Linked DNA regions of Homo sapiens: regions 1 and 3 are each linked to region 2. The links are contacts of gene promoters, found by promoter capture Hi-C in human tissues and cell types (Jung and others, 2019). All regions are on one chromosome and are shown on one strand. Each heading gives the region's core, a stretch centred on a gene start or on the middle of the fragment in contact. The rest is flanking DNA. Distances are from core to core; before and after follow the strand shown.

Region 1 (3,133 bases), core at 601-3,100, 200 kb before region 2:
AGTTTTCAAAAACAAATCAGGTATTTAGATCTACTGTCATGAAATGTAGCATTTGATTTTGTAGCATTTGATTTGATTTCAGTCTTTCATGAAATTGTAATGGCCCCACTTGTGGAGAATTTGATTAAATGAAGGTTCATTTCCTGCTTTCAAGAAGATCAGCCAAGAAATTAATGACTCTAGAAGATGGTTCTGCTTGACTGGTTGGCTGCTAAATAAAAATTTTATTTAGTAAAAAATCTTCCGCACTAATTCTCTTAATTTTCCTTCATGGTTTGCCCATTTCTCTTGCAAATATTGTTTGCCTATAGGGTAGTTGTACCTACAGTGAATACGGTTTGTCTTAACACTTAGGTTATATGTAAGATAAAAATAAATTTACTAGTTATAACTAAGGATTCACAAGTAGATAAGAAAAACTGCTAGAATAATTTTTGTAGAAATAAAAAAATAAGTAAATACTTTTTAAAACTTGAAGTAAAGGAAGAGGGGTTACTCAAACTCCCTATAAATGTGCCAAAGATGAAAAATCTAAAATTTGTATATTCAAATAGCTAACCAAGACCCAAAATAAATGAAACACTTACACTACATGTTTTATCTCATGATTTCTGAAACTTTTAGCCCTAAGACTTTTAGGAAGGTAATTTATGCTTCTTATATGAGCTTTAATGTTTTAATTTCAGTGTTTCAGTGTTCATGCATGCATGAATGAATATTTATTGAATATTTATTGTGCACCAGTTATATACCAGACCTAGTTCTAGGTATTTGGGATACATTCATGAACAAAACAGGCAGAGTCTTGCCTTCATGAAGCTTACAAGTGAATGGGGAAAGACAATAAAGGATAAACATAACAAGTAAATTAATTATGTGGCACATTAGAAGATGATAGCAAAATGGAGTAAGGGGGATTGGGAGTAGGAATTACAGATTGCAGTATTGAATAGGATGGTCAGGTGAAGCCTGCTTGAGAAGGCAATATCTGAGGGAAAACTTCATGGAAAGAATAGAATTGTCTGAAATGAAAAAGTGTCCACACCAAAATTTAACTATTAAAAATGTGTTAACTTTTTTAATGGACATAGATTACATAACATGATATGGTGTTTTCTCATGTAACGTTTAAGATTCACCATGATGTTTGATGATTTCTAACTTGATAGAATAAAATAAGGGTAGTGATTGTGTTAAGATACGTACTTTACTATTATCATCTGTACTTCTAAGATAGGAGTTAATTTCAACAAGATGTTTCAAAACAATCATAATAAGCCCAAATTGTCAAACAGCAAAGTTCTTTAAAAACCCATGAGCCTATATTGCACTCATATATTCTATATCCTCTGCCAAGATTAAACCAGATAGATAGTAATTAAAATTAAGATGTTTTCCTCACCTCCAGGAATGCTTGTTTATACATATATATTATTTAAATATGAACTGATGGAATCTGAAATAATTCTGACAGTAAAAATCTATATTTTTAATCTTATCTGTTTTATGCACAGCCTACTTACATAACAAGTAGTCTGTCTAAACTCCCTCTCCTGGAAAAATAGAAAATTCTTAATTCTGTGTTTAATTTATCTCTTCCCTTTCTGCTATCTTGTAAGTGTAAATGGAAAATTCTTAGTTCTATGTTTATCTCTTCCTCTTCTGATACCTTCTAAGTGTTAGGCTGAATTACAAACTAATTAGCTGAGAAGTCCAGGGATTGAATTTCTGCTCTACCACTTACCAGCTGTGTTCCCCTGGGCACTTTACTAAACCTAATTAGGCCTATTTCCTCAACTGTAAAATGGAGGCACATGACTCTCAGAATTGTTGAATAAAATAATGTACTCAAAAAGACTGGCACTTTATAGGTTCTTAATCATTTTATCAGAATCATGTCATATGCTTTTCAAATTCGCAAATATTAGAATAAATAACTGAATGTAAATTACTGAAAAATGGACCAAGCCCGTATCTAATAACAGGCATTATAGTATAATGATGGTTTTTGTTTTTTGATTTATATGTTGGCGATTCTGAGAAAGGAAAGAGCTTTATGACATTATGTGCTTGTGGGAATTTTGGAAGCCATTATGAAAAAGGCACAATTTTAAATGAACCTAAAAGGAAATGTAAGATTTGGGTTGGAAGAGAAGAAATCAGTGATTCCTGAAATAAACTTACGATTACGATAGGCCTCAATGGGTAATGGATTTTTGTGAAAAGGATGATACGGGAAGCATCTTAGCTGTCCATTCTTTTGTCATAATAGCGTAGTTCTGTAAGGGCTGCTTCACACAAATACTTTCACTTGTTGCCATATTCCTAAAATACAAATTTTACTTCCATTTCTCATTTCATGTGCTTTTACTTTACAGTTGCCATTTATTTACTAAAAGCCAATGTAAAACATACTCTCCCTACTAAGGAGAATGTGCCCTTACAATTTGTTTATTTAATATACACATAATCATATAGTCTTTATTTACACAGCCATGGTTACATGGTATGTGTGTAAAATATATGCTTATACAAGAACCCTTTTGCATAATATTCACTATAGATCCTAAAACTTATGAATGAAGAACTTCTAAAACAATGGCACCATAATATTTATTACAATTTTTATTATGAAGGTACATTACATTAATAGAGTGCCCTCTACCCCATGTCACTGCCACTCAGGTCAAGAAGACATTGTACATCTTCCAAGTCAATACAGTCTCTCATACTACTTTCTACAGAGGTAAACAGTATTCCGATTTCTTTCTCTGAATATTAGTTTTATCTGCTCTGGAAGTTCATATATTATTCCATATATTTAGTTTAGTATTTACTTTCACTAGATATTGCCAAACAGTTTTCCAAAGTGGTTGTATTAATTTAAGCTCTCACCAGCAATGTATGAGAGTCTTAGTTGTTCAACTATTATAGTTTTCCTTTCAACCTCTTGAGAGCTTTTAATTCCCAACATAGTTCTTAAAGTGTAATGAGATTATGACTTCAGGAATTGAAGTAGCAATTATTTTTCATAATTATAGTTCATGTGACATTGTTTTTAAAAAGAAGTTTGGTTTATTTTACTTTAGTAAAAGTATGTGAGAAGACTAGAACTTTGAGTATAGTTATTTCA
Region 2 (2,838 bases), core at 237-2,736:
GAGTATATAAAATACACTCAATAAATATGCCTTGAGTAAACTGTACTTAGAATCTTTCTTTGTTTCAAGATCCATATTTGAGATCATAAGATCCATATTTTTGAGATTCATAATAAAAGATAACTTCAAGAAAGTAAATGAAGAATTTATTTCTATGGCAAAAAATATTGATATATACTATGCTGTTAATTATATATGAAATATTACATCTGTTGAGATTAGGACCTGGAGTCTGATTCTTCATTTCATGGATTACACCAATATCTTTGCTCTAAAAGATGAGGCCAGGCATGGTGGCTCATGCCTGTAATCCCAGAACTTTGAGAAGCCAAGGTGAAAGGATTGCTTGAGCCCAGGAGTTTGAGACTAGCCTGGGAAACATAGTGTGACCCCCATCTCTACAAAAATAAAAAATTAGCTGGGAGTAGTGGTGCACACCTGTAGTCCCAACTGTTGGGGAGACTGAGCTGAGAGGATCTCTTGAGCCTGGGAGGTCAAGGCTGCAGTGAGTCGTGATCACACGTCTGCACTCCAGCCTGGTTGAAGAGCGAGATTCCGTCAAAGAACAAGAAAGAAGAAAGAAGGAGAAGGAGGAGAAGAGGAGGAGGAGGAGAAGGGGGAGGAGGAGGAGGAAGAAGGAGAAGGAGGAGGGGGAGGAGGAGGAATTGCAGGTAGTTACTATTCCGATTGCTTCACCCCACCTCACCCCCCTCCCCGGCCTACTTGTTTTACTCCTAGATAATATATCTAACAGCAATCCAACTATAAAATATTAATATATGTAACATATAAGCATTTGACTATTACAACTGAAGGAAAATGGTAGCTATCACTGGGGGCGAACAGGATCACCCAAGTGCATTTAATGGACTGTAATAAACCACATTTCCTCACAGCATGATTCAAATGTTCTTCCTCAATTTGCAATTAACTGATATCCACAACTGGTTACTTTGGGAACTTTGTATTCCTGCTTTAGGAAAACAAACAAGGTTTATTTCTTGTGGTTATCATATAAAAATAACTTCTCATATCTAAGATCTTTCAAGCTTCCTCTCACTTGCCAACCTTGCCTCACCTTCCTGGTTTACACTTCTAATAATTTTCATGTGTTCCTCCGGCTAACCCCTGGACTCCTGATCTCCTTGCTGGAGGTGAGAATGATGCCAGGGTTAGCGACTGCTCTGCGGTTCCCCAAAGCTCCTCCTACCCAGACGGCGACAGTTTGGATGCTGAGGTTGGAAAGCAGGACAGGGGACACTCCTGAGTGCAGCTCGGAGCGGGGAAAGCCGAATTCCGGGGGCTGAAGAGGCCGCGCAGGGGACGAGCGCCTGCGATGCGGAGCGTGGACTTCTTGGGCCGTACCCCTGCGGCTCAAGCTGCCCCGGATTCGCTTCTCCGGCCGTGCAGCCCGGCGCGGGCCGCTGTCCACAGTGGGAGGTGCTGAAAGCAGGGAGCGGGTGCGGGGGCGGCGAGGCGGACCGCTGCTCCGAGCGCCCCCCTCCTCGCTCCGCGGCTCCTCCAGCCCTCCCCTCCTCCCGCAGCCATGTTCCACGCGCGGGGAGGGGTGGGGGGAGGGGAGAGGCACGGGGGATCAGGGCGGAGAGAGCCGGCTCTGCCTCGGGGAAGGAGGGGATGAGAGTTGGGAGCAGCGGGAGGAGGCGGCGGCGGCGGCTAGCGAGGAGACAGAGCTGGGTCCTGCAGTAGGACTCCCGGGAGCCACCATTATGGTGAAGAGGAAGAGCTCCGAGGGCCAGGAGCAGGACGGCGGCCGCGGCATCCCCCTGCCCATCCAGACCTTCCTGTGGCGGCAAACCAGGTGAGGGGCGCAGAGGGCGCACCGCGGGCCGCCCTGGGCTGGGGGCGCTCCTGGGGCCGCCCGGGTCGCCGCTGCCGCCGCCGCCGCTGAGGCCGCGCCACAGCCTGCAGCTCCCTCTCTGGGGCTGGAAAACAAGCCCTCTGCACCAGCTTAAAAACACGCATTAAAATATGTATATATATGTATATATTTCAGTGAAGTTTGACGACAAGCAGATTGGCAGTTGTCGCATAAATGTATACATTATTTTAGGGGGTGGGAGGGCAGAGAGCCTGGGAAGAGGGGGCGGGGAGCTAGATAATTATGACTGGTTGTGCTCCTGCGTCCAATTCCCCCTCCATCTCCTGCTGTAATTCTAGCCCAGTGACCTGTTGTTTTTCCAGCTCCTGTTTGGCGAATATCTGCTATGCCCACTTGTTAACCGTTTTGCTCAGATTAATCTCCCCAGTTAAATCTCCTGAGGATTTGTGATAAGGGACCTTCCCCCACAACCCCGGAAAGGCCTGACACCTATTCCAATAAACAGAAAAGGTTTTCTTTATTATTGTTATTTTAGAGATTTATCAGATAAGATATTAGATTCTGGAAATTATGACCCATAAGCCGTGTTCAATTTTCAGTTTTTATTATGACTGTACACGTAAGTAATGCACCACTTCTGACCACTGGCGATTTAAAATCTTAGAAGTCTTCAGATTAAGAGTGGATACCGAAAACCATCGAGATCCACTTCTCTTTCATATATGCAATTACACGTGTAAAAGAAAATGTCATCAGCTGTTCAACACCTGCTCATTAAAAAGCTATAAGGAAGCATGAAATTTGAATTTCATAGCATCCTGTCTTATTCATTGAAAAATACGTCACAAGGATGCTTTAATAATAATTTTACTTATGTTTATTAACAAATATCTCTATTAATTTTTCAGTGCATTTTTGAGGCCCAAACTGGGGAAGCAATATGAAGCTTCTTGTGTGGTATGTGATTTTCACCATTTAATAATTATTTCCCTATTCTG
Region 3 (3,301 bases), core at 570-3,069, 180 kb after region 2:
TGAACAGTTCGTGAGTTATTTGAATAAATAATGTTAAGCATTCTGATTAGTAGTAGTATAATAATAGTAATAATATTCTTACTATCATTGCTAAACACACATTTGCATATAGCTTGCTGAGCTTCTCCAGCAGTTATAACCCAGTGGTAAACACATCTTGTGTAAGAGGGCCAATTTAGTGAATTTAAAGATGTAATCTACATTTTTATTAGTTATTATAGTATTTTATGAGACATGGAATGCCTACAATTCCAACTAAGTATTCTTTTATTATTTTACTGTTTGTGAAGTGTTGTGTTTTTAACTATAATTTCAGAAACTACATAACCAATATAAACAGCAGAATGTTATCCTACTGCTTGAATTAATAGATTCTCTGTGGGACAGGATTAAATAATGCGGAGAGAGGATTGAGAAATTTGGGAATGGTAAGGTAAATTGGCACCAGAGTTCAGCCCTAAACAAAGTTCAAGCAGTTAGTCCTGTCGCAAGATGCTTGGGTGCCGAAGCAGAGTCACTAAGCTGCCATGTGGCAGGAAAGGGGCAGGCAGGGAGCCCTGGATGAGACAAAAAAATAAAATGCAAGTGGGGAAGGTGGATGCAGGACACTATGCGTATGATGGGCTTTTCTGCTCTGTTCCCATCTAAATTAGCTGCCAGGAAATATTCTTCCCCAGGATAGGGATGGGGAAGCCTTCTTCCTGGGTTTAGTGTCTTTGCTCCTCCATTCCATTCTGCCATGCTGTGTGTCCAATCTAAAGTGCCAGATCCTTAGTGTGAAATTGTCTACGCCTCCACCAAAAGGCACCAACTCCCCCAGCCCCATCTTGCTGTGCTGGTAAGGGGGAAGCCCTTTAGTCCAGGAAGGACTTTTTCAGCATGCATCAGCAAGAAAAAGAGAGAGTGGGATTGTAATTCATTAGCAGCAACAGATGTTTAGTTTCTAATCATGAGCTACATTGCCAAACTAGGCAAGCAGAATATTGCCCAAAAGCCTTCTGTAGACTATCATCCTGAAATGTTCATATGCACCTAAACTAAGGAAATGGGAAGAGTTGGCACAGACAGCCATGACAAATTATCTCTTCCAAGGAGAAATAGTTTTCTATGCTATTGCTGATGGTTTCATGAAAGTCCCAGAAGAATATCCTAAAGAGAAATGAAAGACTTACACTCTTCCTTCTGTACCCATCTGGTTATGTCACTGGCCTTTTCCTACAACTAGAAGAAAGAAAAGCAGTCAATTGTTCCCAAATGCCACTGTATTTCTAATATATATATATATATATATATATATATATATATATATATATATATACACACACACACACACACACAGAGAGAGACTGACTCACTCTGTCACCCAGGCTGGAGTTCAGTGGCATAATCTTGGCTCACTGCAACCTCCGCCTCCCGGGTTTAAGCAATTCTCATGCCTCAGCCTCCCAAAAAGCTGGGATTATAGGCATGCACCACCAGGCCCCGATAATTTTTGTATTTTCAGTAGAGACGGTGTTTCCCCATGTTGGCCAGGCTGGTCTCGAACTCCTGGCCTCAAGTGATCCACCCACCTCGGCCTCCTAAAGTGCTGGGATTACAGGTGTAAGCCACCATACTCAGCCTATTTCTCCTCATATTACGTAATGTTAAAGCTTTCCTCATTTCTATACCTTTTTATAAGGATAAGTCAATTAACTTATCCAAAATTGACTTACTCGAAGTGTCACAAAGAGTTATGGATGGAGCTCTGGCATTTAAAATTATGTGGCTTTAAATATTCCAGTGCATTTAATATTCTTTTGGCAGAGAAGACTAGCTTCATTATTTGGTAGTAGTTACTCAAACCAAAATTGGCTTCACTGTATTTACAAAAAGAAGATAAGAATTCTCTGCTCAGGGTTTCTCAAGGTGGAAGTCAAGTTGTCAGCTAGTCTGAACTTTTATCTGAAGGCACTGGGGAAGAATGAACTTCCAAGCTCATTCAATTTTTTGGCAGAATCTAGTTCCATGCGGCTTTAGGTCTGAGGTCCCATTTCCTGGCTGGCTGTCAGCCAGGCACCACTCTGCATTGAGAAGGCACCTGCATTTCTTCTCACATGCTCCCCCTCTACCTTCCAACCAGCAATAGCATCTTGAATCCTTTTTTTTTTAAATTTTTTAATTTTTTTTAAATTATACTTTAAGTTTTAGGGTACATGTGCACATTGTGCAGGTTAGTTACATATGTATACATGTGCAGCGCACCAGCATAGCATCTTGAATCCTTATGCTTCAAATCTCTCTGCCCTAGCCAGAGAAGACTCTCTGCTTTTGAAGGGCTGGTGTGACTAGATTAGGCCTATGCAGATACTCCCCCTTTTTGCCGTATAATGTAACATAATCACTAGAGTAACACCAACGGGCAAAGATACTGGGAGCCATCTCTAAATTGTGTCTATCACAACAGGCACAGGAAGAGGAGATCTGGTGTGATCGTTAAAAGCTTACTTTCTAGCCATCCCCAGCAGACAGAAAGTGAGCAACAAAGAAGCAAACCTTGATGATTTCATAAAAGCAGTTGCTTTAAAAAAAACTGCATTATGCCTTTTTCGTCCTAGATGCCAATACAGAGGCAAATTTTACCTATTATTTGAAGTAAATCTGGCAGATATAAAATGAGATGATTCAAATCTATTACTAACGATCTAAATTACTGACTTATAAGATACTAACTTACTCACTTTCCTGGGTAGCCTTAGGTGTGATGTGACTAGGAGAATTCTTTTATTCTTTGATAGTTTCTCAGAAAAAATAGAGTAGTTGATAATGGTGTAGGTGGCCAAAGTGGTACATACATCCTTGCCTTTTACTTATTATCTAGAATGGTGAACTACCCAGTAGAACTGAAGAATGACCTCTTTACTCTCAACTGGTACAGACTTAGAAGTCTGTAGATATTTCATAAATGTCTTGTTGGAAGAGTCATTTTGACGAGTCTATTACTCAGAACAAAGAAGTGGAAGAACTTAAATCATGATGAGCTTATAAACCCCTGGGAATCAATGTTCTTTTAAAGTGCCTCTCAGAACAAACAGAAAAGCCCAAAGCTAGACAGCCTGTCTTTTGAAGACTCTAAAACTAACTTAAAACTTATGTGTGCTTCAGTAACTTGAGGATTTAATAAATGTTTCCATTTCTGTTGTTGTTGTTGTTTTGCTGTGGTGATTACTGTCATTGTTACAGGCCCATGACAGCCCCACAGATGAGCAGGTGTGACCAAGGTCATAAGGGAACCACCACAGCCAATCACACCATGTCGTCT

The links. The method cuts DNA at HindIII sites, captures the fragments that hold promoters and counts their contacts. A contact is called where the count stands out against the background at its distance.
Region 1: a fragment that was not itself captured here is called in contact with the fragment with the promoter of UNC80 in region 2 in 2 of the 25 tissues and cell types used here (dorsolateral prefrontal cortex and mesendoderm cells).
Region 3: a fragment that was not itself captured here is called in contact with the fragment with the promoter of UNC80 in region 2 in 1 of the 25 tissues and cell types used here (H1 embryonic stem cells).

The regions. Positions count from the first base shown.
Region 1 is chr2:209,568,631-209,571,763 of GRCh38, forward strand. The region is part of intron 2 of MAP2 (microtubule associated protein 2); the gene reads left to right. Among named protein-coding and RNA genes, the nearest start is that of MAP2, 150 kb to the left of the region's middle. The HindIII fragment of the contact is 8,691 bases long and covers 1-3,133 here.
Region 2 is chr2:209,770,346-209,773,183 of GRCh38, forward strand. It overlaps UNC80 (unc-80 subunit of NALCN channel complex), which reads left to right and starts at 1,487. Exons shown (of 65, transcript NM_001371986.1): 1 at 1,487-1,819; 2 at 2,749-2,797. The coding sequence starts at 1,728. The HindIII fragment of the contact is 3,928 bases long and covers 94-2,838 here.
Region 3 is chr2:209,954,422-209,957,722 of GRCh38, forward strand. UNC80 (unc-80 subunit of NALCN channel complex) reads left to right here. Exons shown (of 65, transcript NM_001371986.1): 49 at 3,223-3,301. Among named protein-coding and RNA genes, the nearest start is that of RPE, 47 kb to the right of the region's middle. The HindIII fragment of the contact is 3,752 bases long and covers 1-3,301 here.